Regions from separate parts of the Homo sapiens genome. Here region 2 is linked to region 1. The links are contacts of gene promoters, found by promoter capture Hi-C in blood cells and fetal thymus (Javierre and others, 2016). All regions are on one chromosome and are shown on one strand. Each heading gives the region's core, a stretch centred on a gene start or on the middle of the fragment in contact. The rest is flanking DNA. Distances are from core to core; before and after follow the strand shown.

Region 1 (5,002 bases), core at 1,786-4,285:
CTACCTTCTTCTTTTTTCGAAGAGGTTCTGATCTAATAGATAAAGCAAATATTAAACATTTTCCTCTTTGGTCTCATGAACCTACTGAGAGACAAGATGGTAAGTACCCCATACTGACCTCTCCACTGGGGGAAGGAGCTGTGCATGACTAACTCATGAGCTCAGCGTGGTGAGGAGGTACTCCACCCCACAGTACTTGTGAGAACTGTGTAGGTGCCATCAATTACAAGAAATAGTACAAAAGCAGCCGGGTGCAGTGGCTCAGGCCTGTAATCCCAGCACTTTGGGAGGCAAAGGCGGGCAGATTGCCCAAGGTCAGGAGTTCGAGACCAGCCTGGTCAACATGGCGAAACCCTGTCTCTACTAAAAATACAAAAATTAGCTGGGTGTGGTGGTGCGCACCTGTAATCCCAGCTTCTCGGGAAGCTGAGGCAGGAGAATCACTTGAGCCTGGGAGGCGGAGGTTGCAGTAGGACAAGATCGCGCCACTGCACTCCAGCTTGGGTAACAGAGCGAGACTCTGTCTCAAAAAAAAAAAAAAAAAAAAAAAAGTACAAAAGCAACAAGAGGCATCAGGGTATAAAATCGGGAAGTGTTCCTCTTTATTGCTGGGATTCAGGTGTGCCTTGGGATTACACTCAAAAGTGAAAATACCAAACTGTTAGATTAGAAGCTTATTACTATTAAAATTGATTTGTGGACTGGGTGCGGTGGCTCAGGCCTGTAATCCCAGCACTTTGGGTGCTGAGGTGGGTGGATCACCTGAGATCAGGAGTTCGAGACCAGCCTGACCAACATCCAACATGGTGAAACCCCGTCTCTACTAAAAACACAAAAATTAGCCGGGCGTGGTAGTGGGCGCCTGTAATCCCAGCTACTTGGGAGGCTGAGGCAGGAGAATTAGTTTAACCCAGGAGGCGAAGGTTGCAGTGATCCGAGGTCACACCACTGCACTCCAGCCTGGGTGACACAGTGAGACTCCATCTCAAAAAAAAAAGAAAAATCAAATCCTTTACTATCAAGATTGACTGAATCAAGTATCTACAAAGAGTCGAGAGTGCCAGATGGAAATACCTTTAATACTTGCATCTTCCCCACACTCTCCAGGGCCTCCGAATGGGCAGGGAAGAGGAAGGGTCATGGAGAAACAGAAACTTAAGCTGTGTCCTTTAAAACACACAAGAATCCCTTCAAGGAGAATACTTACTTCTTGAGAAACTGCTCAAATTTTAAAAATTACAAACAACAATCTATGGTTTGGAAAATGTTGGAAAAACAGAAAAGCATCGGCCTAAATTTAACTGAGAAACTTTGTAGGCTGTTAATTTTGCAAACCACACATCCAGCATTCTTGCTTTGTTCTCTACACATAGACTGACACCTTTACCCCCAGAGGTCAGGCCCTCGATTGAGTTTTACCTCATGGGAATGAGTTCCCAGAAAGACAACAATGACGCTCGCTGGTGAGTCTCTCTAAGCTGCGTCTGCCAAGTTCCCAGAAGCCTGAAAGATACAAGAGTATGTATAAATATCTGCTTCTCCAGGCTAGGCGCGGTTGCTCACGTCTGTAATCCCAGCACTTTGGGAGGCCGAGGCGGGTGGATCGCGAGGTCAGGAGTTCAAGACCAGCCTGGCCAACATGGTGAAACCCCGTCTCTACTAAAAATACAAAAATTAGCCGGGCGTGGTGTTGGGCGCCTGTAATCCGAGCTACTCGGGAGGCCGGGGCAGAACTGCTTGAACCCGGGAGGCAGAGGTTGCAGTGAGCCGAAATCGCGCCACTGCACTCCAGCCTGGGCGACAGAGCGAGACTCTGTCTCAAATAAATAAATAAATATCTGATTCTCTCCCACTTCACAGGAAAATAAAAAATTGCAATGCTCCCAAACCCGGGGCACTTCTAACTACTTGATATGACAGCAAGGTCAACGTGGAAGGTTTTTCAAAATCTTTCGTTCAGACCACAGAGGACTTAAGCAGGACCGCTGCTCGCCAGGGTGCTCAGATTTTCATGCATAAGAGTCACGACCAGATGGCTCATCCCTGAGATATTCGTGGACTGGGAGGCGAGCAGGGAGCACAGGCGAGTCCTGGCGGACAGTCGCGAAGACCCCGCACGCGCCCTGGGCACTCCGCTATCCGGCCAGCGTCCGCACTCACCCGCTAGTCGGGCGCAGGGCTAGCGAGATACTTCGCAGCACGGAGGCCGTCATGGCTACCCTCGCCGCTTCCGGGCGTGCGCCCCTCCACAGTCCGGCCCGCGGTGCCCCCTGCTGAGGTCCGGCAGACCAGGCGCCCAGCGCTCAGGCGTTCCGGCTGCGTGGGCTGGGACGCGCCTGTCCCCGCCCCCGACGCAGCCCCGCCTAGGGTGTCAGCTGCGCACACACGAGGGCCTTGCGTTTCACGCGGCTCGGGGTCCTCCCTTCCGTCCCCGCCCTGTGCTGGGAGCGCGCCTCTGCAGCGGGCACAGTCTAGCCAGTCAGGCCCTAGCCGGTTGGTCGGTCTGCGCCCTCGCGCGGGCCTCGGCTCCGCAGTGCAGCCGGAGCGGCCGAGGGGGCGTCCCTCTGCTCCTCCGAGTCCAAATGTTCATGTCTAGGCAAACGGCCCCGATCTTCTAATAAACGCGTCCGCCCCAGCCTCCCCCACCAGGGTTGGCTCGTCCCCCGCATTCGTTCGAGTCCGAAGCCCGGATCGCATTCCGGCGCCGGCGCGGAGCCCGGCGCTCGCAAGATGCCCAATAGCGCGTGTTGATGAATGACGGAAGCTAGTTAATAAGTCGGACTCAGACTGGCGAGGCAGAGCTGGTGACGGGCGGTCCACGCCACCTGGGCCCCGCCTGCCTCTGCGGGCGGCCCGGGTTGCAACTGCAGGCCCCGCTCGCTGTCCGCCGTCCAGGCGAACCGCCCTTTCTGGGGCGCCCGCGCCCGGGCCCGACCCGAAGCCCCTGCCAGCGGAGGAGCCGGGGCGGCCCAGTCCGCGTGGGGAGCGGTTTCCCGCCGGGGCGATTTGGCAGGTGCGCGCCGTGACTTCCGGCGTTGCCCGGGAGCCGCCTGAGGAGGAGCGGCGCAGGGGATGCGGCTGTGGTGGCGGCGGCGGCGGCCGAGCGCGGGTGGCGGCTGTGGCGGCGGAGGGGGGCGCGGGCCGGCGATGGCGCGGCGGCCCTGAGGGCGCGGGGCGGGCGGCGGCCGGAGGGCGGGTGGCGCGGGAGGAAGCGGCGGCGGTGGCTCCATGGCCCGGGCGCGCTGAGGGACCCGGCGCTCGCCTCAGCCCGGCGGCGGCGGCGGCCGAACAATGAAGCTCCTGAAGCCGACCTGGGTCAACCACAATGGTGAGTGCGCGCAGGGGTCGCGGGAGGCCGAGCCCGGAGTCGGGTCGGGGTCTGGAGTCGAGTCGGGGCGCGCGCAAGTCCTGCCTGTCTCGCCCCTGACGCCCGGTACCCGGTGCCCAAGCCAAGAAGCCGGCGGGAGCGGACTTTGTCCTCAGCGCGGAGAGGCTGGTGAGCCCCAGCACGTGCTCCGGGTTGACCGCAGCGAGGGCCATCTTCGCCCCTGGCTCTTGCTCTGAGTCTTCCGCTGCCCACCTGTGGTCCTTGGAGGGGCCGCGGCCTGGCTCCCAGGAGCGGGCCTTGGTGCCAGCCAGTGCCTTCCACTGGTCTGCATCGCCCGAGAAGTGCTCAGACGGTCCTGAAGGTGAAACCGGGATGAAATCCCCCTTGTGGCCTTTCAGTGGCAGGATGAAGATCCGAAATCTGCAAGAGGGACTGTTACTGCCCCTCTGGATCTGGGGACAGTGCCCCCAGTTGGGGAATTGTGGTCCCTAAATAGGAGGGTTTGGGGGCCCCGGGCCCCCGCGAAGGATCCACGATTAATGCTGAGCTGGGACATCAGGGTGAACTAGGGTTGGGCAGATAGGGCACAGGTGTGTTCTAGCAGAGGGGCTTCTTAGCTCTGTGGCAGTGGCTCCAAAGCACACCCTTGGGGAACGGACTCATCCACCCCATATCTTGACTCTGATACAGAGAGGCTAGTGGTAATCAGTTTCGTCATAGTTCTGCCTTGTTGGCAGAACTGCTGCAGGAGTTGGTGTTTGCTCCCCGGGTAGATGAAAAAAGCGCGCCTCCCCCTCCCCCACCCCACTCTGCTGACAGCACTGTAGCACAGAAATCAACCCAGGGAGACTCCTCCAGCCCAGGGCCTGATTCTGGCCTGTCTGACTGTTGACAGGCAAAGGGTCACCCTGATGCTGTCTTGTTCCTCATTTCTACTTTGCAGTGCGACTACAGGGTGCTACCGTTTTCTTTAGGAGCGAGAATAGATATTTTAACATGTGGCTTTTTCGTTTTGAATTTGGTCCCAGGATGCTCTCTACTACCACAACTAAACTGAACTGATCATGTGTGTGTTCTCCTCCTGCCACCTCTCTCTCCTTCCATCTTGTGTGACATCTTTCCCATTTTTCAGGGACTAGGTTCACGTGTTTCTTTTGAAACTGTTCATCCTGAGTTACCCCGGTAGATGTGCTGTATCACTGTCTGTGTGTTTTGCCTGGCATGGAAGGTGTGAGGGTACTTTCCATATGCCCCCAGGGTAGGGACTGCCTCAGTCCCTTCTGTATGCCCTACTGCATTGAACAACCTCTTCCACATGATGGGTATGTGATAAATATTGGCTAAAACAGGTAAGAAAGCTGAGGTTTTCATAATTTATCAAGATGAAGTTAGGTTTACTGTGCATGAAAGCCGAAGCCTTGAGTTTTAGTTTCATTTCTCCTGTTGATCTCCAAGAGCATTTCCTGATGTGTACTGTGCAGATCTTTCCCTGGAGAACTGGACAAATATTGTAATTATGAATTATGATGCTTGTGATTAGGAAAGGAAAAATGTTATTATGAACTAGTTTACTGTGTGAAGGTCTGATAGAATTTTTATTTTAAAATGCTTTACCTAAATCAGTTTTTGTGAATAGCCTACCCTTCTCCAGCCTCTCTTCTACTGTCATATAAC
Region 2 (5,002 bases), core at 2,503-5,002, 42 kb after region 1:
GCCACCGTACTCCAGCCTGGGCGACAGAGCGAGACTCCGTCTCAAAAATAAAAATAAAAAAAGATAATAAGTATCATATATTGTACCTTAAAACACAAATTTTATATGAATAAAATATTACTTATTAAATTTTTTTGTTTTGGAGTTCATGTAGGGTTTTGTTTGAACCAGAGCTTTGTTGCTAAAGTCTTTGGAAATCAGTGCTTCATGGTTAGTGCTCTACGTGATTCTCCCATGCAGTCCTCACAACCACTTTATTAGCAGCTCTGGGAGATCACGACGCCTGCCTATGGCTCACAGAGCTCCTAAGGCCCTGCAGCCTCATTGGTGTTAGAGACAGCAAGCCCAGGGACACGCCTCTGAGTTCCATCTTCTCCAGTCTCTGTGCACCCCGGCCATTCCTGCCTGCCCTCTGGAATTAAAACATCTCTAGGCTACCTGACACCAGGCTTTCAGGAACCCTCCTTCTTCTGCCCTCAGTTGTCCTAGGTTGGGGATTCCCAGAGCGCCCACCCCTTTAAATCCAGGAGGGTGTCTGGGAGCTCAGTGAGTGCTTTCATCCTTTGCAGAAACAAAGACAAGTTACTCTCGGGGTAGTTCCCTGGACTAAGCAGCCAACCAAGCACCTTTGTGTGATATTGCCATGGTCACTGGCCCAGGGAGATCACAAATGACTCTCTGACTGAGCAGATCTCTGCTAGACGGTTATGACTGAACAACAAATGCAGTGAGGCAATAAGGAATTCAGAGATTCACACCCCTCCTGCCCATCCCCTTGGCCTCCCTTAGGAGATAGGGAGTGAGTAGGTCTTTGTTTCTGAAGCCCCCTTGCAGGCTCAGCTTTTCTGCAGGTCCTAGGGCTGGCCCTGCCTGGCCAGAGGGAATTGAGAAGGCTAGTTTCAGTAGCTACGCATCCCTTCTACTTGGCAAGCTCCAGAAATGGAGAGTTTGGTAGCTCTAGTTTCAAATCTGCATTTCCCAGCTTACTCATTTGGTGCCTCCGCACATACTTTCTGACCTCCCTAAGCTTCCTTTCCATCATCAGCCAGATGCCTCATAGGTGGTCGGGAAGATGAAATGCATGCTCAGTGCCTGGGCTCAGAGAATGTCTGTGGGAGACTCCCTTCAGTGGGCTGGGACTTGGGCACAGGGGACATGCCTGATGCTTGATTAATTATTTTTAACATCTGTTATTTGGCTTTAGAAATTCAACCCAAAAATCTTCAAAAAGAAGCAGAAGAATGGGAGTTCTGCGAAGCCTAGCTGCCCGTACTGCTGCTGTGCTGTTGGCAGCAAGGACCGCTCGCTTTCTGTCTGGGTGAGCCTGCTATCCTGAGCTTTTGTTGCAGGACGGGAGGTGTAGGTTGGTAAAGTAGCAAGTGGAGGAAAGAGACCTGCTTTGGGTGATGCTAAGAGTGTATTTCTATTCTGCACCTGGGGTCAGCCCCTCCTTGGAAGCTCACAGGCTCTCCTGCTCTCCCAGAAGGAAGTGCTGAAGACTGGGTCTGTGCCCAGCCAGGAGAGGCCACCTTGACCCCCACCTAGACCAGCTCTTGTGTCCAGACTCAGGCAGCACCCTCAGTGGTCAATGCCATGAGCAGCATGTTGGGCTTGCTTCCTATTAGAAAAATCTTTATATGGCTGGGCGCGGTGGCTCACGCCTGTAATCCCAGCACTTTAGGAGGCCGAGGTGGGCGGATCACAAGGTCAGGAGTTCGAGACCATCCTGGCTAACACAGTGAAACCCCGTCTCTACTAAAAATACAAAAAATTAGCTGGGCGTGGTGGTGGGCGCCTGTAGTCCCAGCTACTCGGGAGGCTGAGACGGAGAATGGCGTGAACCTGGGAGGCAGAGCTTGCAGTGAGCTGAGACCGCGCCACTGCACTCCAGCCTGGGCAACAGAGCGAGACTCCGTCTCAAAAAAAAAAAAAAAAGAAAAAGAAAAATCTTTATATAAAGTGTATTCACCTGAAAGGTACAGTTTGGTGAGTTGTCATACATGTTTACACACCAGTGTCATCACTGCCTAGAGCACTCCTTTTTGTCCCTTTGTCCCTCCCCAGTCAAGACCTCCCTCACCACCAAAGCAACCACTCTAATGGCCTCTGTTACACTGATGAGTTTTGCCTGCTCTTGAACTTCATATAAATGCAATTGTGTGGTACTTGCTTCTTTGTGTCTTCATTTCTTTTGCTTGGCACAGTGTTTTTGAGATTCGTGTATGTTGCTGCACTTAACAGTATTTTATTCCTTATAATTTCGGTGTAGCATTCCACTGTATGAATACACCACAATTTGTTTATACAGTCTCCTGTTGATGGACATTAAGATTGTTCCAGTTTTGAGATATTATGACTAAAGCTGATATGAACATTCTTGTATAAGTCTTTATGTGGATGTACGTTTTCATTTATGAGTACATACCTATGAGTAGAGTTCTAAAATTAAAAAAAAAAACAAAAAAATAGTACCAAGTGTCAGCAAGGACATGATAAGCTGGAACTGATACATTGCTGACACGTGTTGCTGACAGGTGTTTACGCTGGCATGAGCACTTGGGAAAACTGTCTGGCAGTTTCTACCACAGCTAAGCATATGACCTAGAGCACTTCCACTCCTAGGCATACAACCAAGACAGATAAGTGCTTATGTCCACAGAAAAAGACACACAGAAAGCTGACGCCTCTATTAGTCCATTTCACCCCTGGGTGATGCTGTGATGGGTAAGGTTGTGAGCCTAGTACTCCTCACTCGCTGGATCCCCTGAGATGAGGCGATGTCTTCAGCTTCTTTTTTTTTTTTTTTTTTTTTTTTTTGAGACAGAGTCTCCCTCTATTGCCCAGCAGGCTGGAGTGCAGTGGTGCAATCTTGGCTTCTTGAGTCACTGCAACCTCTGCCTCCTGGGTTCGAGCGAGATTCTCCTGCCTCAGCCTCCTGAATAGCTGGGATTACAGGCCACCACACCCGGTTAATTTTTTTGTAATTTTAGTAAAGATGGGGTTTCACCATGTTGTCCAGGCTGGTCACAAACTCCTGACCTCAGGTGATCCGCCCGCCTTGGCCTCCCAAAGTACTGGGATTACAGGTGTGAGCCACCACACCCAGCCCGATGTGTCTTCAGTTTCATTGTTCCCCTCACCTTCCTAACTCAGTGCCCTCTACAGAGCAGGTTCTCAGCAGATATACTCAATGGTAGTTGGCGAGTGAGAACCCAAGGGTAAGAACTGTGGCGGTTTCTAAGTGAGGGCTCCTGAAGGGTTAAGTTTCTCACTGCCAGGGGCTGGTGTGCTGTGACCTGACTGTGTGGTAAGAGACACCTCCGCATGCAGTGCAGGGAGCAGTCTTGGTGCTGAGCATCAAGGTGCCAATATATTTAAAGTTTGATAAAGCAAAGTGCACACACATTAATTTTTTTTTTTTTTCATTTTGTAAAAAAGTGTCCCTATAAGCAGAGCAAGTTGGAAGTTCTGGGTTTGAAGGTTATCCTCTGGCTGCATTTATTAGTTTGGTATAGAGAAATATATTACTGTGTGCGTTGTGATTTTTTTTTTTTTTTTTAGGCCAAGTATTCACTTAACACCCATTCTGGAACCTGAACCACAGTACCACAGATTGCCGTTCAGGGGACCTTCCCTGTTTCCTCCCAGCCAGAGGCCCTGTTTGTGGCGCTGCAACCAAAACATCACTGACTGTGATGCCCATATTTCTTAGAATGCTCAGGTTAGGCAGTCACACGGCCTGTAGATTTCTGAGGGGTCTGTAGGCACATTTATGAGAGGAGGGACAAGGCAGCTTTTTCTAGAAGTGGAATTAAGGTGGAGGCGAGATTCTTAATGTGGGTTCCAGATCGTTCAGACTTCAGCCCCCTCTCCACCACTAGGGTAGACACAGCTTCTCCTTCCCCACATAGCAGTCTCAGGCTGCACTGGGACGCTCAGCCCCACAGCCTCCCAGAAGCTGCAGCAGCACCTATGGGAGCCCACCATCCCGTGAGGAAGTGTGTTTCTTCCCTGCCCATTGTCCTGCAGTTCAGGGCCAGCCAGCAGGGTAGCCAGGCACTTGTGCACAAGTGGAAAGGCCTACCATAGTTGTGGGAACGTGGAGTCAGAGTGTATGCCAGCAATTGAGTGACTCGATAGAGAATATGCACAGTGCATGCTATGCAGTCATCCAGAAGAGACTTTTACAGGATATTTAATGACATACTTATTGTGTGTTAAATGAAAAAACAGACACAACTATGAAGAATAAAATAAATTCTTACTTTGAAGAATAAAATAAATATTTGCACAAAATAGAAGATAATAATTCATCAAAGTATTAATAGTCGGTAACTAGGCCCAGATTAAGGGCCCAGGTGTGTATTTCTGTACTACCTACACATAGTGTAGAATGAGCCTTGGATAAATGTGTACCAGAGTCCCTTGGGCCCAGGGAAGATGTGTTGTGTTCTCTCTCAGGGTGCCTCATCCCCTGTCTAGGCTTTGGCATCGTGTCTCCTGCTCCATAGACCCTCTCAGAGGTCCACCCTGGGGCTGTCCCTCTCCTCCGACCATAGCCCTTCAGAAACCCACTCCCACTCTGCCTTCTCTGTTGCTAGTTATCTGTGTATAAAGCTATTTCCCCTGTCAGACCACAGCAAGCCCTGGAGGCAGGGTCCACTCTAGGTAGCATGCACATTTTTGGCAGGCTTTGGTTCCCACAGTTTGGGATCTCTGCAGCTGCAGTTTGAATAGAGTTGAAGATGCCTTAAATATCAGCAGCCACTTTGACCCAGGCTTCTAGGTTGGTTATGTTAACTGAGCTGAATACAGAAGGGGATTTCAGTAATTTCATTAACCTTGACTGTGTCTTTCCTTCCAGCTCACATGTCTGAAACGGCCGCTGGTGGTCATCCATGAACTGTTTGACAAATCCATCATGGATATTTCCTGGTAAGGTGGATTCTACTTACAGGAATAGGTTAAGAAAGGAGAAGCCACACATTGGAACATGAGGCCT

Evidence for each region. The method cuts DNA at HindIII sites, captures the fragments that hold promoters and counts their contacts. A CHiCAGO score of 5 or more calls a contact.
Region 2: a contact is called between a fragment that was not itself captured here and the fragment with the promoter of HIRA in region 1, in 1 of 17 cell types (erythroblasts). The highest score is 5.3, in erythroblasts.

Annotation. Positions count from the first base shown.
Region 1 is chr22:19,429,766-19,434,767 of GRCh38, reverse strand. HIRA (histone cell cycle regulator) reads left to right here and starts at 3,035. Exons shown (of 25, transcript NM_003325.4): 1 at 3,035-3,328. The coding sequence starts at 3,292. It overlaps MRPL40 (mitochondrial ribosomal protein L40), which reads right to left and starts at 2,223. Exons shown (of 4, transcript NM_003776.4): 1 at 2,161-2,223; 2 at 1,420-1,503; 3 at 1-32. The coding sequence starts at 2,213. RefSeq lists silencers at 2,149-2,458, 2,749-3,148 and enhancers at 3,433-4,180, 4,129-4,198, 4,439-4,568. The HindIII fragment of the contact is 6,181 bases long and covers 676-5,002 here.
Region 2 is chr22:19,388,417-19,393,418 of GRCh38, reverse strand. It overlaps HIRA (histone cell cycle regulator), which reads left to right. Exons shown (of 25, transcript NM_003325.4): 9 at 1,205-1,318; 10 at 4,865-4,935. Among named protein-coding and RNA genes, the nearest start is that of HIRA, 41 kb to the left of the region's middle. The HindIII fragment of the contact is 5,446 bases long and covers 1,030-5,002 here.